3 separate regions of the Homo sapiens genome follow, and all the other regions are linked to region 3. The links are contacts of gene promoters, found by promoter capture Hi-C in blood cells and fetal thymus (Javierre and others, 2016). All regions are on one chromosome and are shown on one strand. Each heading gives the region's core, a stretch centred on a gene start or on the middle of the fragment in contact. The rest is flanking DNA. Distances are from core to core; before and after follow the strand shown. Region 1 overlaps COL5A3 (collagen type V alpha 3 chain). Region 2 overlaps LOC105372270 (a long non-coding RNA gene). Region 3 holds the start of OR7G1 (olfactory receptor family 7 subfamily G member 1).

Region 1 (2,823 bases), core at 109-2,608, 870 kb after region 3:
TCAGTGTGCACAGAAACACACACATGTGTATACACATGTCCTTTCACGCATATGTACAAGCTTCTTGCACACATTTATGCCCACCATCATGCAAAGTGCACGCAGATTCATGCCCTTGTTCACCCAGGCACAGGCCTGCAGGCTGCGGCATTCAAACCCTGTCTCATCGATATTGAAAGATACATGAAACACATATACATGTGCTTACAGTCATATTCATGATAATACCATGTGTAATCACCTACATGTGTCATGCATTGCATATAATAGCATGTGTGCACACAAATGTTCCAGGCATAGACACAAACACCCAGGGTCCACCCATCATCAGACACAACCACACATGCTGTTCCCCTCAGACAAGTTCTCCCCTCTCCCTTACCCCCGGTCATGACTCACCGACTTCCCTTTCTCTCCTATGGGTCCCAGGGGACCGGGAAATCCAATAGATCCCTGAGTGGAGAGAATTAGAAAGAAGACATGAGGGTGAGGAGTGAGTGGTGGGTGGAATTGGCCCCTCATACCATCCTTTGAGGCATTTCCAGGTCACTGATTCCAGAAGCTTCCTTGGTCTCTACAGCCCCAGCCTCCTACAAGGCAGCCCTCTTCTCTCCTCTCCCCTCCTCTCCTCCCTTCTCATTTCACTGCAGCCCTTTGCACTGGCTGCTGTCTTTGGCTGAAATGCTTGTCTCCTAGGCCTCCACAAAGTCAGCCACTCCTGACCATTTAGATCTCATTCAGATGTCACCTCCTTAGAATGCCTTTCTACCACCATCCTGGCTTCCACATTGCCCAAGTCACCCTCTGTCTGTCACATTATGCTATTTTGTTTTCCCAAGAACACTTGCGTTGAAATGACCCTTATTGACTTATTTATTCAATGCCTGTTTTCCCCCACTGTGACATAGCTCATTGGTCTTATTCCCCACTGCCTGGCACACGGTGAGTGCTTTTTAATATTTGTTAACTGACTCCAGTCCATGCTGGAGGAACCCTTCCTCCACCTGGGGGAAGACATCACAGGCTCTGATATCCTCTCCCACACCTCACTGTGCAGACTGAGTTCAGATCAGAAAAGACAGTTGCCCAAGTTACACAGTCTGTGGTGGCATCCCGCCTCAAAGCCCATTTCAGGCTCCCTCTACTCTCCCTTCCCATCTGGGGGTTCCATGGTCTCTATACTCTTTTTTTGTTTGTTTTATTTTTAAGAGACAGAGTCTCACTTTGTCACCCAGGCTGGAGTGCAGTGGTGCAATCATAGCTCACTGCAGCTTCAACCTTTTGGGCTCAAGTGATCCTCCTACCTCAACCTCCTGAATAGCTGGGACTACAGGTTCACGCCACCATGTCCAGCTAATTTTTGAAATAAATTTTTAGTAGATATGGGGTCTCACTATGTTGCCCAGGCTGGTCTTGAACTCCCGGCCTCTAGTGATTCTCCTACCTCAGCCTCTGAAAGTGCTGAGATTACAGGTGTGAGCCACCAACCTGGCCCCAACACTCTTCAAGGATCCTGAACACATGCACACAAGGACTTTCTAAAATCTTAGTCTATGTCAGGTACAGTGGCTTATGCTTGTAATCCCAGCACTTTGGGAGGCCAAGGTAGGAGAATCACTTGAAGCTGGGAGTTTGAGATCAGCCTGGGCAGCATAGCGAGACCCTGTCTCTGTAAAAAATTTAAAAATTCATCAGGTGGTGCGCACCTGTTGTTCCCAGCTACTCAGGAGGCTGAGGCAGGAGGACTGCTTGAGTCCAAGAATTGGGGGCTGTAATAAGCTATGATCGCACTATTGCACTCCAGCCTGAATGACAGAGTGACACCCTGTCTGAAAGGAAAGCAAGCAAGCAAGCAAAAAGAAAGAAGAAAGAAAGAAAGAAAGAAAGAAAGAAAGAAAGAAAGAAAGAAAGAAAGAAAGAAAGAAAGAAAGAAAGAGAAAGAGAGAGAGAGAGAAAGAAAGAAAGAAGAGAGAGAGAGAAAGAAAGACAGACAGAAAGAAAGAAAGAAAAAAGAAGAAAGAAAGAAGGAAAGAAAGAGAAAAAAGAAGGAAAAGAAAAGAAAAAAGAGGGGGACGCAGTGAGGGAGGGAGGGAAGAAAGGAAGGAAGGAAGAAAGGAGGAAGGAAGGAAGGAGAATAAAGTTGTCCATCAAAACTAAGCTTCAAAGTTTTTTTCTCAATCGTTAAAAAGAAAAAAAAATCTAAGTTAAAGGAAAAGGAGTCAATGTAAAGGGAAATCACTGAAAAAATAAAAAAAAAAAACCACTGTCAAATCCAACGTAGGCAAGATAACTATCAGCTCAACAGCACAAAAATGTGAAACTCTAGGAGGATTCTGCACTCAATTATCTTCCCAAATGTCTATTTTTTTTTTCTTTTGAGACAGAGTCTCACTCTGTTGCCCAGGGTGGAGTAAGTGGCACGATCTCAGCTCACTGCATCCTCTGCTTCCCGGGCTCAAGCAATTCTCCTGCCTCAGCCTCCATGTACCTGGGATTACAGGCACCCGCCACTGCACCCAGCTAATTCTTGTATTTTTAGTAGAGATGGGGTTCTGCCATGTTGGCCAGGCTGGTGGTGAACTCTCGACCTCAGGTGATCCACTCGCCTCGGCCTCCCAAAGTGCTGGGATTACAGCCATGAGCCACTGCGCCCAGCCCCAAATGTCTTTAGGTTCCTGCTCTACTCTAGAGAAACAGAACTCATCAGTGATATAATATGGGAATAGTTTAGGCAGAAAAATGAATCTCATCAGTGTCCTCACCCATCAAAACATTGGCAAACAAATGTTATGTTTTCATATAAGTACGTTTTTGCATAAGTAC
Region 2 (2,967 bases), core at 92-2,591, 600 kb after region 3:
AAAAAAAAAAAATCCCAAACAGTATATGTAAGAAGAGAAAAAGAAAAACAAAAGCAAAAGGCAAAAATCTTGCTGTCCACCATACAACAAAGTACCAAGGGAGCCAGACATATAAAGAACCTAGACCACCACTGTCCAGGTGATATAAAATGTATGAAAGAGTAAAGCCAGGAGACTCAAAGGAAGAAAAAAAAAAGACAGAAAAATTGTTTCAAATGTGAAAAAATAGGTCACTTTAAAAGACAATGTCCCAAGTGAGAAAGAGGAAGAGACTGAGTGTGAGGGAGAGAATGCTGAGACCAGATCGGTCAGGGAGACCCTAACCCAGTAGCGCTAGAAGAATTGAAGACACACACACAGAAATATAGAGGTGTGAAGTGGGAAATCAGGGGTCTCACAGCCTTCAGAGCTGAGAGCCCCAAACAGAGATTTACCCACGTATTTATTAACAGCAAACCAGTCATTAGCATTGTTTCTATAGATGTTAAATTAACTAAAAGTATCCCTTATGGGAAATGAAGGGATGGGCCAAATTAAAGGAATAGGTTGGGCTAGTTAACTGCAGCAGAAGCATGTCCTTAAGGCACAGATCACTCATGATATTGTTTGTGGCTTAAGAATGCCTTTAAGCAGTTTTCCACCCTGGGCGGGTCAGGTATTCCTTGCCCTCATTCCGGTAAACCCCCAACCTTCCAGAGCGGGCATTGGGGCCATTATGAACATGTTACTGTGCTGCAGAGATTTTGTTTATAGCCAGTTTTGGAGCCAGTTTATGGCCAGATTTTGGGAGGCCTGCTCCCAACATGTCCCCCTTCTTTGATTTGCAGATTGATAAAAGCAAAGGAGCTTTGTCATGGTGAGCTACTTCTCATAGGAGTCAGGATCTGCATCTGAAGACTATACAAAGATAAATAACATGGATTAAAAGCACAATCATCATTGAAATTACAGAGCTTCCAAGTGTTTTTATCCATTTTAATGGGTTACTAGCTGCTAATTTGTCTGCAGCTCCTTTAAGCACCCCAGTTCCTGGCATTAAGGTCAGGTGTGCCTGGGATGTTTTAAAATCTGTTCTTTTAATTTTGCAATATCCAAAAACAAGTCTGTAGAGTGTCCTTTTAGATACTTTTTTATTCTTTCCAAAATTGTGATCTTATTAAGAGCTATTAATAGTTTCCACAAATCCTTAATGTTTAGCTCCTACAATGAGCCATATCATTTGAGGTTGAAGTGCCACTATACTGCTATGGTTCCAGATAATAGGAACTCTTGTTGTACTTCTTATCATTTCTACCATCTGACCATTTTGTTCAGACCAGCTGAACATAGTGTGGCTGGGGCATGCAGACTGAGAGGTGCAATTCAAGCTAAACATCCCCTTAGGGGACCAATCAATAAAGATTCCATAGGAATCATTGTGTAGCACCTCTACCTGTTCTGCAATGCAATTTTCCTAAACAAGCACATTCATTTTTTCTAACTGGGTCCAATCCTGTTTACAAATAGGTTTTTGAGGGTGGTATGCCTCAATTATAGGAGCAGATTTATTATGGTAAATACTGAGATCAGAAAGCATGTGTAACTGGGTCATAGAGTGATTGCATCCAGGCATTATTGCCAGCCAAGATTGATCAATATGCCCAATAAGTATAATTGTTCTCTGTGTCAGCTCTTATTGAAGGAATACTCACAGCAGTGGTGATAACCACTATGATAGCTACCATTAAATTATTCATTGTGACTGGTTGTCCCACTTTCCTCAGTTTTTCTTCCACCATCTGTGACAGCTTCTTGATCTGTCCCCAGGTGGGTGGCTGTGTTCAACGGGTGTTACTCGTGACAGTTGGGGTCCTCCTCAGCATCAGTCTTGACATGGCTGCAACTGGGGGGTCCTTGGGATCCTCCCGGAGTCTCTTCCTCGGCATCTGGCTCATGATAAGGTTTCAGGTGTCTTGATGGTATCCAAATTGGCTGTTGATTTTGGCCTGGAGAAACACAAGCATAACCTCTACCCTAAGTTATTATTTTACCTATTTCCCATCTTTTTATTATTGGATCTCTCCACCAAATCAGTTGTTCTGTTTCTGTCTTTGCAGCTGGTTTCTGTAGATGCTGTTCAGCTGCTGATAACATCTGGCCTTTGGGCAGGTTCAAAAAATTTAATGTTAATAATGTTAGATTCAGTTGTATCTGTGTGGTTCCATATTCTCCGTCTCCCCTTTTCTGCTTTTGCAACTGCTGTTTTAGGGAGAGATTCATTCTTTCCACTATGGCTTGTCTTTGAGAATTGTATGGGATACCAGTAATGTGTTTAATACTCCACATAGAGAAAAATGTAGCTAGAGATTGGCTAGTATATCCTGGGGCATTATCTGTTTTAATAGAAGCTGGAATGCCCATCACCACAAAACACTGCAAAAGATGATGTTTCAGACAGGCCAAACACTCTCCTGATTAGCATGTAGCCCATATAAAGTGAGAAAAGGTGTCCACACATACACATATATAAGCTAGTCTCCCAAACGAAGGAACATGTGTGACATCCATTTGCCAAAAAGAGTTAGGTTCCAATCCTCAAGGAATAACTCCTCCTGTAAAAGATGAGGAATGTACCATTTGGCAAGTTGGGCATCACTGGATAATATTTTTAGCTTCTTTCCTGGTAATTCTGTATCTGCGTTTGAGACCAGAGGCATTAACATGGGTTAAATTGTGAAAATGTCTAACATTAGATACTGCATTAGCATCTAGGCAATCAGGCTTTTGATTCCCTTCAGTCAAAGGTCCTGGAAGAGGTGTATGAGCCCTAATGTGACTGATGTAAAAAGGGTGCATTCTACTTCTAACTGCTGTTTGCAACTGGGTAAATAAAGTCATCAGTTGTTCATCTGTATGAAATAATAACTGAGCATTTTCAATTAACTGTCTGCAATGAACCACTATGAAGAATCAGAAATCACATTAATA
Region 3 (2,973 bases), core at 448-2,947:
GGTCAGGAGATTGAGACCATCCTGGCCAACACGGTGAAACCCCATCTCTACTAAAAAAATACAAAAAATTAGCCTGGCATGGTGGCGGGCGCCTGTAGTCCCAGCTACTCAGGAGGCTGAGGCAGGGGAATGGCGTGAACCCAGGAGGCGGAGGTTGCAGTGAGCGGAGATCGTGCCACTGCACTCCAGCCTGGGTGACAGAGCGAGACTCTGTCACAAAAAAAAAAAAAAAGAAAGAAAGAAAAAGAAAATCTTCATGATGCAAGAGTCAGGCACTCTGGCTTACCAAGGAATCCTGTCATGTTGATTCCTTTTAGAAGCTTCAGTTCAAAGCAGAGCACAAAGATCACAAAAAAGAAAGTAGGTCAGGCATAGTGGCTCATGCCTGTAATCCCAGCACTTTGGGAGGCCGAGGTGGGTGGATTACCTGAAGTCAGGAGTTCGAGACCACCCTGGCCAACCTGGTGAAACCCCATCTCTACTAAAAATACAAAAAAAATCCAGGTGTGGTGGTGTGTGCCTGTAATCCCAGCTACTCGGGAGGCCGAGGCAGGAGAATTGCATGAACCCGGGAGGCGGAGTTTGCAGTGAGCCGAGATCGTGCCACTGTACTCCAGCCTGGGCGACAGAGCGAGATTCTGCCTCGAAAAAAAAAAAAAAAAGTAAATCTCGATGCAAGAGTCAGGCACTCTGGCTTACCAAGGAATCCTGTTATGATGATTTATTTTAGAAGCTCCAATTCAAAGCAGAGGACAAAGATCGCTAAAAAGGAAACAGCCTACCAATAAGTTTCCTCAAAGCTTTCTTCATCTCCTTATTTCTCAGGCTGTAGATGAAGGGGTTCATCATTTGAGGGACCACAGTGTACATCACTGAAGCCACAGCAGTAATTCGGGAAGACTCAGCAACAGCAGAACTAATGTACACCCCAAAAGCTGTCCCATAGAACAAGGAAAAAACAGAGAGGTGACAGCCACAGGTGGAAAACGCTTTATACTTTCCTCTTGCTGATGGCATTCTCAGAACAGAGGTGACTATTTGAGAATAAGAGAAAATTATTCCAGAGAGAGGAATTGCACCAAATACACTACTTGCAAAATATATGAGGATGTTGTTGATGAGGGTGTCAGAACAGGCGAGCTTGATGACCTGAACGACTTCACAGAAGAACAAAGGGATTTCAACGTTTTTGCAGAAGGACAGCTGCAATACCATCAGACTCTGAACCAGGGCATCCATAGTGCTCATGAACATGGAGAGAAGAATCAGCAAGCCCCAGAAATGGACATTCATGAGGACTGTGTACCTCAGTGGGTGGCAAATGGCCACATAGCGGTCGTAGGCCATGACTGCAAGAAAGCAACTTTCCAAGCCAGCAAAAACCAAGACAAGACAGATCTGGGTGAGGCAGCCTGTGTAAGTGATACTCTGATTCTGAGCTTGGATGTTCACTAGGATCTTTGGGACTGTGGTTGTGGTTAAACAGATGTCAGTAAAGGAGAGATTAAAGAGAAGGAAGTACATGGGGGTGTGGAGGTGGGAGTCAGAGATGACAGCCAGGAGAATGAGCAGGTTCCCCAGGATGGTGACCAGGTACATGGACAGGAACAGGCTGAAAGGGATTAACTTCAGTTCTGGGTCCTCTGTCACTTTCATGAGAAGAAATTCTGAAACAGCTGTTTGGTTTCTGGGTCCCATGTTTTTGATGATCAAAAAATGGGATAATTAGACAATCAAATGTGTTTTCTAGACTGCGGGAGCAACGTCAACAGAGGCAAACACCATCTTGAAAAGGGGTAGATTCTAAGGGAAGAAAATAAATAAGTGTTGCCTTTTGTATTGATATTACTTTACTGCTTTTACAAAACTTGAAGCTAATACAGCACAGCATCAATAATTGTTAATTCTGGAAATGGTTAAGGGGTCATCATTTTTTATTTTTATTTATTTATTTTTTAAATTTATTTATTTATTTTTGAGACAGAGTCTTGCTCTGTGGCCAGGCTGGAGTGCAGTGGCTTGATCCTGGCTCACTGCAACCTCTGCCTCCTGGTTTCAAGCAATTCTCCTGCCTGAGCCTCCCAAGTAGCTGGGATTAAAGATGCTTGCCACAACACCTGGCTAATTTTTGTATTTTTAGTAGAGACGGGGTTTTGCCATGTTGGCCAGGCTGCTCTCAAATGCCTGGCCTCAAGTGATCTGCCCAACTTGGCTTCCCAAAATGCTGGGTTTACAGGCGTGAGCCACCACGCCCAGCCTCATCTTTTTTTTTTTGAGATGGAGTTTCGCTCTTGTTGCCCAGGCTGGAGTGCAGTGGCACAAACTTGGTTCACTGCAACCTCCGCCTCCCAGGTTCAAGCGATTCTCCTTCCTCAGCCTCCTGAGTAGCTGGGATTACAGGCATGTGCCACCACTCTGCTGTTCTGATTATTAAAAATATTTGGTAATGAAAAAACAAAAAATAAATAAAATAAAACAAAGTACATACCAGGAAAACGGCTGGAAGACTCTGTCTGGACCCCCAGAGACTTCACGCCAGCCAACAGAAATAATACAAAGCTGTGTCAAGAACCAGGAAAGGAGAATCGCTTGAACCCAGGGGGCGGAGGTTGCAGTGAGCTGAGATCATGCCATTATACTCCAGCCTGGGCAACGGAGCAAAACTCCATTAAAAAAAAAAAAAACACCACAGGAAAGTGAAGATAAGGTGAAGTTTAGCAAGCTGCTCACCTCCTCTCCCCCACAAGACTGCAAGTAAATTACAGAGAATTTTATAACAGTCATCCTGTTTTCAAAGAAAATGGTAACTACAGAATTCAGGATAGTGTATTTGTTGCTGGAAGAAAACAAGGTGATTTGAGTAGAAAATCCTACAGGTAGGTTCTATGGTGATGACATTAACTTATTTTTAATGCCAGATAGGTATATGCGGTTTTATCATGTTACTATTCTCTCAGAATTACAGATAGATTT

What was found. The method cuts DNA at HindIII sites, captures the fragments that hold promoters and counts their contacts. A CHiCAGO score of 5 or more calls a contact.
Region 1: a fragment that was not itself captured here is called in contact with the fragment with the promoter of OR7G1 in region 3 in 1 of 17 cell types (fetal thymus); the score reaches 5.3 in fetal thymus.
Region 2: a fragment that was not itself captured here is called in contact with the fragment with the promoter of OR7G1 in region 3 in 2 of 17 cell types (erythroblasts and fetal thymus); the score reaches 6.0 in erythroblasts.

The regions. Positions count from the first base shown.
Region 1 is chr19:9,981,666-9,984,488 of GRCh38, forward strand. It overlaps COL5A3 (collagen type V alpha 3 chain), which reads right to left. Exons shown (of 67, transcript NM_015719.4): 32 at 400-453. Among named protein-coding and RNA genes, the nearest start is that of COL5A3, 27 kb to the right of the region's middle. The HindIII fragment of the contact is 1,596 bases long and covers 561-2,156 here.
Region 2 is chr19:9,711,218-9,714,184 of GRCh38, forward strand. The region is part of intron 1 of LOC105372270 (a long non-coding RNA gene); the gene reads left to right. Among named protein-coding and RNA genes, the nearest start is that of ZNF562, 38 kb to the left of the region's middle. The HindIII fragment of the contact is 3,459 bases long and covers 1-2,967 here.
Region 3 is chr19:9,114,066-9,117,038 of GRCh38, forward strand. It overlaps OR7G1 (olfactory receptor family 7 subfamily G member 1), which reads right to left and starts at 1,698. Exons shown (of 1, transcript NM_001005192.2): 1 at 763-1,698. The coding sequence starts at 1,698. The coding sequence ends at 763. The HindIII fragment of the contact is 3,860 bases long and covers 799-2,973 here.